3 separate regions of the Homo sapiens genome follow, and regions 1 and 2 are each linked to region 3. Evidence: promoter capture Hi-C in human tissues and cell types (Jung and others, 2019). All regions are on one chromosome and are shown on one strand. The core of a region is centred on a gene start or on the middle of the fragment in contact, and the rest is flanking DNA. Distances in the headings are between cores, read along the strand shown.

Region 1 (4,111 bases), core at 420-2,919, 320 kb before region 3:
GGGGTCTGCGTGAGAGGGTCATGATTGATTGAGTAAACGGGGTAGGTGACAGGGTCTGCATGCACCGGTGGTCAGAGTGAAACAGAACAGACCGGGAAGTTTTACAATGTCTTTCTGTAATCTGTAGATAACAGCAGTTGCTAGGTCAGGGGTCGAATTTTAACTACCAGGCTTAGGTCAGGCCCAGGCTTGGTTTCGGTTCTGGTTTCTTGGATTTGGGTCTGGTTCCTAGGCGCCGGGGCACCTGCCTTTAGTTTGGCTTCTCTTTCCTTTTCAGAGTATAAAACAACATAAAACAATATGAGAAGGTCTGTCTCTCTTCTCTCATTCAGATTTTATATTTCTTCATAATGCAGCCTTGGTAGGTTGTGTGTGTCTAAGAATTTATCCTTTTCTTCTAGGTCATCTAATGTGTTGTTAATCAATAATTCATAGTAGAATCTTATAATGCTTTGTATTTCTGTGGTTTCAGTTACAATGTCTTTTCTTTCATTTCTGATTTTACTTCTGAGCCTTTACTTCTGATTTTACCCCAAGTCTTCTTTTTTTCTTATTTGGTATAGCTAGAGGATTGTTGATTTTGTTTATCTTTTCAAAAAACCAACTCTTAGTTTTGTTGATTTTTTGTATTGCTTTTGGAATCTTTATTTTGTTTACTTCTGCTCTGATCTTATTTCCTTCCCTCTGCTAACATTGGTTTTATTTTTTTCTTTATCTGGTTCCTTTGGGTGTAATGTTACATTGTTTATTTGAGATTTTTCTTCTTTTTTCATGCAGGCATTTGTTGCTGTAAACATCCCTCTTAGAACTGCTTTTACTGCATTACATATATTTTGCTCTACTGTGTTTCCATTTTCAGTTGTCTCAACATATTTTAAATTTTTTATTTAAATTTCTTCTTTGACCCATTGGTTGTTCATGTTGTTTAATTTTTATATATTTGTGAATTTTCTGTAATTCCTGCTGCTATTGATTTCTTAGTTTTATATTGTTGCCAGAAAAGATACTTGATACGATTTTAATTTTCTTAAATTTAAGACTTGTTCTTTCATCTAACATATTATCTATGTGGGAGGATGATCTGTGTGCACTTGAGAAGAAGGTGTACTGCGCTACTGTTGGATCGAATGTTTTGTATATTTCTGTTAGATTCATTTAGTCTAAAATGTATTCAATTCTGATTTATCCTTATTGATTTTATGTCTGGATGATCTGTTTATTGCTAAAAGTGTTGTATTGAAGTCCGGCCTAAGCCTCCCACAGTTCTGGGATTACAGGGGTGAGCCACCATGCCTGGCCTGATTCTATTTTTAAATAGCTTTATTGAGAAGTTATTCACATACCATATAATTCACCTACTGAAAGTATACAATTAAAGGTTGGTAGTATAGTCACAAATATGTACAACTATCACTACATCCAATTTTATTAATTTCTAAAATCGCCAAAGAAATCCAGGACTTCAGCAAAAATGCGGTGGGCAGCTCTAAATGTGTGACCCATCACAGTAACATTCAAAAAACAAGCAAAAACTGCACAAATTAACTTTGTCAGGGCTCTGGAAAATAATTATTTCTGGCCACCACATAAATGCTACATGAAGAAAGTGACAACTCTTACATTGTAGAGAAGCTTTCCTGTATCTTTACTTGCTCTGGCTTTGCCCACCCCAGATCAGTGGCTGTCTTTGAAGATGGCAGCTCAAGCTACCAGTGTGGGATGCTGGGGTCTGGAGACAGAAGGATCAGGGCAGCGCTTATTCCCCAAAATTGTCATTATTTGTTCTAACCTTTCTGTGGACTACCTGAGGAACTGATGCAAGGGCCTTGCCTTTGTTTTGCCTAACTTGGAATGTATTCAAGTGGAAAAGTAGCTATGGAAGACCCGCATCAAAAATATTGTAAGGCAGCTGAGTAACCTGATATCATCAAAGGCAAAAGATTCAACTTGAGGAAAGAAAAAAAAACTTTGTCAAAACACTAGAAGAAAAAGCTTGGAAGAGTGTTTCTTTGAGAAGCTAGAGGATTTGAAATGCCAACCTATGCTGGGAAATCTAGAAAACCACAAGCTCCTAGGGCAGGACAGATGCTAAGACAGTGTCTAATTATAATCCTCCTGGCTGTGTTTACAGGAGTGCCCCGAAAACAGGCCCAAACTGCAAAGACAAAGACAGTGTTGGCTGTGTTTACAGGAGTGCCCCGAAAACAGGCCCAAACTGCAAAGACAAAGACAGTGTTGGCTGTGTTTACAGGAGTGCCCTGGAAACAGGCCCAAACTGCAAAGACAAAGACAGTGTTGGCTGTGTTTACAGGAGTGCCCCGAAAACAGGCCCAAACTGCAAAGACAAAGACAGTGTTGGCTGTGTCTACAGGAGTGCCCCGAAAACAGGCCCAAACTGCAAAGACAAAGACAGTGTTGGCTGTGTCTACAGGAGTGCCCCGAAAACAGGCCCAAACTGCAAAGACAAAGACAGTGTTGGCTGTGTCTACAGGAGTGCCCCGAAAACAGGCCCAAACTGCAAAGACAAAGACAGTGTTGGCTGTGTCTACAGGAGTGCCCCGAAAACAGGCCCAAACTGCAAAGACAAAGACAGTGTTGGCTGTGTTTACAGGAGTGCCCCGAAAACAGGCCCAAACTGCAAAGACAAAGACAGTGTTGGCTGTGTTTACAGGAGTGCCCCGAAAACAGGCCCAAACTGCAAAGACAAAGACAGTGTGATTATTTTTCTTGTCTTTTTATTTTTCCCCTCTTTCTTTTCTTTTCTTTTTTTCTTTCTTTTCTTTTCCTCCTGGTGTTCAAGGAGAAAATCTCTCTCAAATTTGTCAAAACATCAGATTAATGCAAGCTAAAGAAATAGATTCCACTATTGCCTTATAATCCTTTGTATTTCTGTGATACAAATAAACAGTAGAAGACCTAGAGAAAACAAATAGAAAAATTATAGAAGTTGTCTTATTTATCAGTAATTGCTTTACATATAAATGGTTCAAACTCTCCATTGAAAAGGCAGAATGGATAAAAATTGTGATCCACTACATGCGGTCTTCAACAGATTCACATCATATCCAAAGATGCAAATAGGTTGAAAGTGAAAGGTAGAAAAATGGTATTTCATGGGAATAGTAACCAGGGAGCTTGGATGGCTATGCTAATATAAGACAAAATAGTCTTTATGTAAAAAAGTTACAAAAGACAAAGAAGGTCATTATATATTGATAAAAGAGTTGTGGCCGGGCACGGTGGCTCACGCCTGTAATCCCAGCACTTTGGGAGGCCGAGGCGGGTGAATCACGAGGTCAGGAGATCGAGACCATCCTGGCTAACACAGTGAAACCCCGTCTCTACTAAAAATACAAAAAAATTAGCCGGGCGTGGTGGCGGGCACCTGTAGTCCCAGCTACTTGGGAGGCTGAGGCAGGAGAATGGCGTGAACCCGGGAGGCAGAGCTTGCAGTGAGCCGAGATCACGCCACTGCACTCCAGCCTGGGTGACAGAGCGAGACTCCGTCTCAAAAAAAAAAAAAAAAAAAAAAAAGAGTTCTGATGGTTAATTTTATATGTCATTAACTAAGCTATGGTATAGTTTTTGGTCAAACACTAGTCTGGATTTTGGTGGAAAGGCATTTTTAGGTTTTACCATCATTTAAAGAAGTAGGTTTTGAGTAAAGCAGATTATCCTCCAAGTATCCTCCTGCAGGATCCATCCTGTGGTTATCGCCACAATTCAAGCAGAATTGGAATATTCATAGTCAACAACTGGCAGAATCCCCACACTCGTTCCCTCTTCTATGCAGTGAGAGATATTATAGTGGAAAAGACCAAGTAGAAGCCATTAGAACTGTGTCTACCAAGAAAAATAGCCAAAAGCGTAACATTCCTAGACGGATGGCAGAGATTAGAGCTACCAGTCAGAACCTGAAAAATGCACAGGTGAAGATTCCTGCCACATCCCCATTCGACTTTCCTGTTTTGCCTGTGCAGAAGACAGATGAATCTTGGAGAAAAGCAGATTTTTGTAAGATTAACCAAGCCACCACTCCAATTGCAGCTACCGTACCAGAGGTGGTTTCATTGCTTGAGCAAATGAACGCATGCCCTGGTACATGGTATGT
Region 2 (4,247 bases), core at 1,018-3,517, 510 kb before region 3:
CCAAGTAGAGAGCATCAGGGTAAATGGCGTTCATTTCTCTGTTAAGATGCAGCCATCCATGGGGAGCTGAGAAATCAGACTCAAAGTTCCACCAAAAACAAATACAAGGGGACTTCAAAAGTTCACGAAAAAATTGAATTAAAAGATAAAAATTAAAAAATGTTTTATTTCTCAGCATGAGCTCCATCAAGGTCGAGACGCTTCTGCAAGTAATGGTACCAGCCATTCAGTTCATCCCTAAAGAATTGGGCACCCTGGGAATTTAACCATGCCACTTCAGTCTTTGTGACGTTATTAACTGAAGAAAAGTGGGTGCCCTTTAAAGATTTTTTAAAATTATAAAACAGAAGTAACCAAATCAGGCCTGGAAGGTGTATGCCTAGTGATTTCCCATTGAAACTCTCACAAAACTGGCCTTGTTTGATGAGAGGAATGAGCAGGAGCATTGTCATGGTGGAGAAGGGCTCTCTGGTGAAGCTTTCCGGGGTGACGATTTCCTGGGTGTTTTCCTGCTAAATCGTTGGCTGACTTTCTCTATACACTCTCATAATAAGATGTTACTGTTCTTTGGCCCTCCAGAAAGTCAATAAGCAAGATGCCTTGAGCATTCACAAAACGGTTGCCACGACCTTTGCCCTTGACATGTCTGCTTTTACTCTGATGGGACCACGCCCACCTCTAGGTAGTCATTGCTTTGCTTGTGCTTTGCCTTCAGGAGTGTACTGGTTAAGCCACATTTCATCTCCGGCTATAATTATATGAAGAAATGCTTCAGGATCTTGATTCCACTTGTTTAAAATGGCCATAGAACGCTTTTCTCTTATCTGCAGCTGAGCTGGGAGAAAGTTTTGGCACCCACCGAGTGGACAGTTTACTCAACTTTAATTTCAGTCAGAATTGTGTAAGCTGAACACCTTGGGATACCTACAGCGTTGGCTATTGTTTCTGCTGCTATTAATCAGTCCTCTTAAATTAGGGCACAAACAAGATGAATTGTTTCCTCACAGACTGATGTGGCTGGCCTGCTGCTGTGGACTTCCTCTCCAACATCATCTCTTCTCTTCTTCCAATGAGTTATCCACTTACTTAAATTGCTGATTTCTTTGAGGCATTGTCCCTATAAACTTTCAATAAATCATCAATGATTTCACCATGTTTCCAGCCAAGCTTCACCATCAATTGCATGTTTGTTCTGGTTTCAATTTTAGCAGAATTCATGTGTCTGATAGGAGCTCTGTTCAAACTGTTGTCTTATACTTCTTAGGGCCTCAAACTAGATCCTGTTCGGACGTGTTTTCACAAGTTAGTACAAGTTTATTTTGTTGCAAAACAATTTGAAATTCATGCATTCTTTTTCCCAATATGCATTTTCCATGAACATTCTAAAGATCACTCATCCTTCCTCCCCATGTTGTCTATTCAATGTCAGGGAGGATGTGACCCCACCCACTGCTCACCTTTGTCTCCCTTCTGTCCCCACCATCCTGGCCAGCCACTGCCTGGTCTAATACCAGAGGCTGCTGGGTGGGGAAGCCTGGGGAACCTTCCAGATAGAGTTTCTTCGCTATTCCTGAGGCATGGGGAAAAGGCTCATCTCAGTCACATCTGAACACTTCGAACCTGAGGCCAAAGTCCATTCTAGGGGCAGTGGGCAAGGAGGGTCCCAGCAACTCAGGACCAGATAGGACCACCAGCACCTGTCAGGCTCTGCCTGTGTGTCCATCTTTTTGCCCGTCACAGGCTGGTGTTCACATCCTGCCATTCACACCAGCACCCAGAAACAGTAGCCCCAGCTGCTTCCAATTCGCAGCCCTGGGCTTGAGTTTGGGGAGCATTACTTTCATTAAGGCAGGCAAAAGTGGGAACTTCATTCAGAAAGAGCAAGTGAGGTAGGAGGTCAGCCACATGAGAGAGTTTCCATGGCAGCCTTCCATTAGAGTCTCTTCAAATGAAGGATGTAATCTGTGATGTAAAATCATAGCAAGTCAAGAAATGTGAATACGGAAAAATTCGAAATTGGGAACTGCTGGGTCTCTGGTAACACTAGGAGCACTCCCAATTACTTGAGTAAGGGAGATAGAAAATTATTGCAGGGTTAGGAATTAGAATGGATCAAGGAGTTTGCTGTCTCCAGTGTGATAGATGCTCTTTCTAGAAAAGTCACCATGGATGGAAGACAGAACGGAGGGTAGTGTCTAGAAAAGAACAAGGTTCAACACAGATGCTCCATTATGAATGTAAAAGCTCAAGTATTGTTGACCAAAGGTTAAGAGTCAGTCTAGAGTGAGGGATTGGAGAAGCAGGAGATGGTGGCCCAGCTGGTCAGGGAAGGTCCTTACACAGGCAGAATAGTCTAGGGGACAGATCCAAGGCCGAGACACTGACAAGGAGAACAGACACTTCTATCAACATGGAAGAGCAATAGGCAAGAATACAGAGAAAGATCATGTATAGGAAGAGGCCAGGAAGTTGAAAGAATTATCCCCAGCAGTCACATTTTCTCTGTGAAACAGAATACGGTGGTGTCTGCTCAGAGAATGAGGGTACAAATAAGGTTGGACTTTGAGTGCCATGATGGAAGCTTAGGACTATCCCCAAAGGTAAGAGAGAAGGGATATCTTAGGGGACATAACATAGGATAGCCCAGCATTGTGGAGGTCATGGCTAAGACAGGGCATTAAACATTTGCAGAGACCTGCAAGAGTTCGGTAGTGGATTTTCCCCAGCAGCAGCCCATGTTTATGAGGGGGAAAGGCAGATAACAAAAGTACATCTGGGTGTGAGCTAGTTCAGAAGGTCACGATGGAAAGAGAGCAGTTGAGTGATGAACTATGGGAACTTCACTGAATGGAGAAGTCAAAGTAAGGTTAGAAATATCAGTTTTGAAGCAGTACCAAGGCCAGAGGCTATAGATGGCACAGAAACACAGAGCAGATATTGGCAATCCCATGATTAAGAGAGTAGGAAAGAAGGAGATTACAACCACTAAAAATAACCAGAACTTAGTACACAATAAATGAAGGCTCAAAACTAATGGGGAAAGAATGGATTATTGAATAAATGATATTGCTAAAATAGGCTACTGTGTTACTACTAGATCAGGTGTGTGAGTAATGGAAATCCCCACATCATAATGACTTAAACAACACAAGAATGTGTATTTCTTGCTCTTGTAAATGAAGTGAGCAAGTAAGCAGCCCAGGGCTGTGGGCCACTGCTGGAAGGACCCCTTTTCACGTGCCACCACAGCTCGGAGCACACACGGGGAAAGGGGAATGGATGGGTTCCATAAGACCAGCATTGTTTTCAGAATTATAAATTCTCCAAAATATATATGCATGTATATATCATCACCTATGTGTAGGCTTTAAAAACAAAGAAAATTGAAAATTTGAGGTTCCACTTTGAGTCCGGAAAGCAGTCTTCTAAGAATAAGTATGTCAGGGTTTCCAAGAGCTGCTGGTAGCCTGATGGCTGGACTCAGAGGATCACATGAAGACACACTGGAAAGTATCTTGAACATGGGTTTCATGTCTTGATCTCTGAAAACAGAAAACGACCCTCCTGTAATACACATGAAGTAATTCATAAATTTCCAAACAGCTAGACTTTCTGAAAGCTCTGCTTGGTCAAACAAACATGTCCAGGTCTCTGAAATGCCTTTCTATCTCAAGCACTAAAAAACTATTACTGACTAAATTCTTTTATGGTCAAACACAAAACTGATACTATAAAACAGAAACAGCACAAGAAAGGAAATTAGAAGCCATCATAATTGTGAACAAAAGATAAATAAAATATTGGCTAATCAAATCCAAGTGTATGAAAATACTAATACATTATGATAAGTACAATTTATCCCAGAAATGCGAGAACAATAAAAATCTTAGGAAAAGATACCACTCACCATAGCAAGAGAATACGCAATAATAACCAAATGATAATCAACGTTCAGTTATAACATTTTAAAAATCCTGGATACCTAAGAATAGAAGGCAATTTCAATATTTTGAAAAAAGTTACTTACCAGAAACCTCAAGCAAACACCATACTTAGTGGTGAAGCATTAGAAGTGTTCTATCTAAGTGCAAAAACATGATAAGCCTATACATTGTTACCACTGCAATAAAACATTAAAGTGGAGAATTTAGTCATGTAGTATAAGAAAAATAAAGAGTATAGAAACTTGTTCCCAACAATCTGCCCCATTAGATAGCCACCTATAACAGAAGACCTTAGACTAATTA
Region 3 (4,327 bases), core at 126-2,625:
CTGGCGGGGCGTGTCCGGCTGTGGCGTGGGCACCACTATGGGAGACCCTGGCTTGGCAAGTGACCTTGCAGCCTTGGCTGGGGAAGGGCTAGATGCTGGGTGGGTGCCGGTAGAGTGGAAAGAATGACAGGTTCAGGTGAATTAAGGAAGGATGGTTGACTCGGTGGCTGGGACATTAGAGACAGGTATTCCCAGCCTCAGGCGCTGTCCTAAGCCCAGCAGGTACTGACCCTTGATGGTCACCTCACCCTATGAGGGAGCTGAGGCCTGGGGAACCCAAGGGGCTAGTCCAGAACCCACAGCCGGGGGAAGGAGGAACCGGGTCTTAAACCCAGGTAGCTCACTCCAGAACCAACTCAACCTCTGTTACAGGTGGCCGGCCAGAAAATGCCCCACCCCACCCATTGACAGTCGGGGAAACTGAGGCCTCAGTAGGTGAAGTGCCTGGCCCAAGCACCAAGGCACACAGAGACGCTCAGGCTTGACCCTGGCTCCGGACGTCCAGCCCCTGCCGCTGCCCCACCCCTCTGCTGCCCTTGGGAGAGGGGCAGCTCAGAGCCTCGACTCTGCACTCTGCATCAGCACCCCCCAAGGGCTTGGGTGGGGTCTTGAGAGGAGGGGGTGGCCTCAGGGAGCGACCTGGGCTTTCCAAGCCTCTCCCAGAGCAGCCCGTCTCTCACACAAGGCCAGAAGGCAGGTGGGTGCTGATGGCTTTCCCAGCAAGAGACCGAGGGGGCGGGCCCCCAAGAGCTCCAGAAAGCTCTCCACCGGACACCAGCAGGAACAGCACTGCAGATGGAGCAGCAGGGGCAAAGACCCGAGGTGATAGTGAGGGGCAGCCGGGAGGCCTTGGGCCTAGCAGTGCATTGCTGAGTGTGGGTGAGGAGGAGGTGAGCACGCAGCCTTAGCTTGAGGGCATTGACTGTGTTTTTACTTAAATGCTCTTAAAGGGGCCTGGGTGTGATGCTGACTCTAGGATGACGATGCTTGGCCAGTGACCAGCAAATAGAGGGTCTGTGACCCCAAGGTCCTGTGACTATGGAGCCCAGACATGGGGTTGAGGGGTGTCAGGCATGGCCCATTCCGGGGCGAGGCTCCCTGCCCTGCACTGCAGGGCTGAGGCACTGAGCGGCAAGCCAGGCGAGGGCCAGCACCACCTTCCACCTGCCGTGGCACGGGTGCACAGGACGTTCCAAGGCCAACCACAATGACTTCTCCTTCCCCTCTGGCCCCAGATGTCCTGGAGGGAAACAACAGTCCCTGGCCTGGCGCCTGGAGCTGGGGACCAGTGTGAGGCCCATTGTTTGAGGCTGGAGCTGGTGGGGGCCACTAGGAAGCCCACGGCAATGCCCTTCATCCCACTTACCGCAGCTCCAGAGCCCTGCGGGAGGACTCAGAGTCAGGGACACAGCAGCGTCCGGCGAGATGAAGGCGCTCGGGGCTGTCCTGCTTGCCCTCTTGCTGTTCGGGCGGCCAGGTGCGGGGCAAAGGGTAACCCTGCGGTGAGGGGGCAGCAACAGCAGTCCTGGAGCACAGGGACCTCCAGGGACCCCCAGCAGGGGCTTAGGAAGAAGGAGGGGATGAGGCTGGAGTCCCCAGCCCAGAGCAGCATGGATGGAAGCTGGCCTGGGTCCCCGAGAGTCCCCAAATATCTGCGCCCCTGTTTATGTGGGGTGCGGGGAGGGGCTACCATAAAGGGCCAGCCCACAGCAGCTGCTGTTGTAACTACAATGCCAGGGCACACTCGGCTGCAGGACAGTGAGTAGGGTGAGTAGGGTAGTAGGACAGTGAGTAGGGTGAGTAGGCTGCAGGACAGTGAGTAGGGTGAGTAGGGTGTTCAGGGTAGGGGCCCTCCCCAGCCACCCTGGGGCCCGAGGATGGCTGGGGAGGGCCAAGGAGTTGGGGGCACGATGCTTGCCCAGAGCAGGTGTCCTCCATACCCGGGTAGCTGAGGCTTACAAGCATCCCTGCACGGCCAGGGAGAGGGCAGACACAGCAGGAGGAAGAGGAAGAGGACGAGGACCACGGGCCAGATGACTACGACGAGGAAGATGAGGATGAGGTGGAAGAGGAGGAGACCAACAGGCTCCCTGGTGGCAGGAGCAGAGGTATGGCCGCCCCAACCCCAGAGCCCTGCTGCCTGATCTGCCTGGAGCATTCTGGGCGGGGCTGTGTGATGGAAGCCAGCAGGCCACAGTCCTGCTGTGAGCTTGCCTCCAGCAGAGTGGGGGACACTCAGTACACCCCTCACTGCTGCTCACCATGACACTCAGTTGCCTTCCAGAGTAGGGAACAGGGGAAGAAGCCACCAGCTGGGAGGGTCAGTGGTGCCAGGATGTAGAGGTTAAATAGGAGTTCACCAGGCAGAGAAGGGCTCAGTGGGGGCCTAGGGTGGAGACACAAGCACAGAGGCCCCAGGGTAGGGTTCAGTTTTGTGGGGCAGAGAGAGCAGCAGGGTGGGCCGGTCCTGTACAGGGGAGGGCTGGATTGGCTGCTGCGGGCTGGGGAGCCAGGGAACCGCTTAGAGCAGAGCAGAGTAGGGCTAAGAAGAGCCCACCCTCACTGCCCACCTGACACACCCCTACACGTGGGCCACCCTCTGCTCTCTCCCATCCCGAGAAAAGCAGAGCAAATCGCCGCATCCAACCCGAGGGCCGGCCCCTCCCTAGCCAGGGACCACAGCGTGCCCCACCACACACAGCCCCTCCCTAGCCAGGGCCCCCAGCATGCCCCACCACACACAGCCCACCCCCCTCCCAGGAGCCCCAAGCCTGCCCTCAGCACGAGCCCTGCCCCACACACCCACGAGGTGTCCCCTGTGAGGCCCTCCTCTGCCAGGCCTGGTGCTCCTGGAGGCAGGACTGAGTCAGACCCACCTCCAGGTTTCTGTGACCACGGCAGGAGCCTGGGCAGCATTGTCGCAGGACGTGAGTGATGATGGGAAGTTCGCCCTGCCTGACCCGCAATCCCTTGCCCCCTAAACACACAGGCTCACGCACACAGCACAGCTTACAGGACCAAGTCAGGGGTCGCCCGCCCATCTGAGCAGTGGGTGCTGGAGGCTCACCAGGCTAGGCTTTGGGAGCACAGCTGAGAACGGGGAGGTGGACAGGGACGTGGGAGGAGACCCTGGGGGGCCCGGCCTCGGCCTGAGCCCGCCTTGTCCCCAGTGCTGCTGCGGTGCTACACCTGCAAGTCCCTGCCCAGGGACGAGCGCTGCAACCTGACGCAGAACTGCTCACATGGCCAGACCTGCACAACCCTCATTGCCCACGGGAACACCGGTAAGTGGGCGTGGGGCCGCAGCACATGCACCCCCAGGCGGCGGGAAAGCCAGGGGCCCGGAACAGAGCCCTGCAGAGCCACCTCAGAGACCCCGCCCATCCTCAGCACTTGTTCCCCACTCCCCTTCCCAGAGTCAGGCCTCCTGACCACCCACTCCACGTGGTGCACAGACAGCTGCCAGCCCATCACCAAGACGGTGGAGGGGACCCAGGTGACCATGACCTGCTGCCAGTCCAGCCTGTGCAATGTCCCACCCTGGCAAAGCTCCCGAGTCCAGGACCCAACAGGCAAGGGGGCAGGCGGCCCCCGGGGCAGCTCCGAAACTGTGGGCGCAGCCCTCCTGCTCAACCTCCTTGCCGGCCTTGGAGCAATGGGGGCCAGGAGACCCTGACCCACGGCCCCTCCCCACCCCCACCCGGCTCACCCCCGGCCCTGCCAGCACTCTGTCTGGTACCTTCCCCTCCTGCCCCTGCACCAGCTTTGGAGAATGGATTTGGAGTGTCTTGGGCGATCCAGCCAGCGCAGGCCCCCCGGCCCGGTTGCTTCCTCAGTTCCCGGCTGTGTCCTTGGTGTCCTTTCTCCACCACCTGTGAGCAGCAAGACTGCCGCACGTGGGCGCTGGGTCCAGACCTCGGCTGCCACGCCCCAGGACCTGCAGCCCTCATGGGGGCTGGGGATCCCCATCAGCACAGCCAGGCAGAGATGATACCCACCACACACCTGGGGGCCCCCACACCCAGTCCTCACCCTTAACTTCTGCCATGGGAATTCCTCCATCTGCAGCGGTCACACGGGCCCACCCTGCCCTTCCCCAGGTCGGCCTCTCCGCTGTCTGGAGGGAAGGGGATTTGGAGGGAGGCTGTCGTCGCCCCCAGGAAAGACGGGCCTGGGGGAGGCGGGACAGTGGGAGAGGCGCGCTGAGGATGAGAGGGCACAGGGAGGTGGGTTGGGGTGAGGCCACATGCGGAGGGGCGGGGCGGGGGGGGGCTGGGGGGACAGGCACCAAGTATGAAGAGGATGGGGCCAGCGGGGCCTGTCTGGC

The links. The method cuts DNA at HindIII sites, captures the fragments that hold promoters and counts their contacts. A contact is called where the count stands out against the background at its distance.
Region 1: a contact is called between a fragment that was not itself captured here and the fragment with the promoter of GPIHBP1 in region 3, in 4 of the 25 tissues and cell types used here (lymphoblastoid cells, mesendoderm cells, spleen and 1 more).
Region 2: a fragment that was not itself captured here is called in contact with the fragment with the promoter of GPIHBP1 in region 3 in 4 of the 25 tissues and cell types used here (dorsolateral prefrontal cortex, lymphoblastoid cells, mesendoderm cells and 1 more).

Annotation. Positions count from the first base shown.
Region 1 is chr8:142,895,985-142,900,095 of GRCh38, forward strand. No RefSeq gene overlaps it. Among named protein-coding and RNA genes, the nearest start is that of CYP11B1, 18 kb to the left of the region's middle. The HindIII fragment of the contact is 4,037 bases long and covers 1-3,688 here.
Region 2 is chr8:142,704,038-142,708,284 of GRCh38, forward strand. It overlaps LY6K (lymphocyte antigen 6 family member K), which reads left to right. Exons shown (of 3, transcript NM_017527.4): 3 at 1-1,090. It overlaps LNCOC1 (lncRNA associated with ovarian cancer 1), which reads right to left. Exons shown (of 3, transcript NR_038925.1): 3 at 1-3,542. Among named protein-coding and RNA genes, the nearest start is that of LY6K, 6.0 kb to the left of the region's middle. The HindIII fragment of the contact is 5,820 bases long and covers 1-4,247 here.
Region 3 is chr8:143,211,843-143,216,169 of GRCh38, forward strand. It overlaps GPIHBP1 (glycosylphosphatidylinositol anchored high density lipoprotein binding protein 1), which reads left to right and starts at 1,376. Exons shown (of 4, transcript NM_178172.6): 1 at 1,376-1,477; 2 at 1,980-2,108; 3 at 3,171-3,284; 4 at 3,417-4,327. The coding sequence starts at 1,426. The coding sequence ends at 3,676. The HindIII fragment of the contact is 48,923 bases long and covers 1-4,327 here.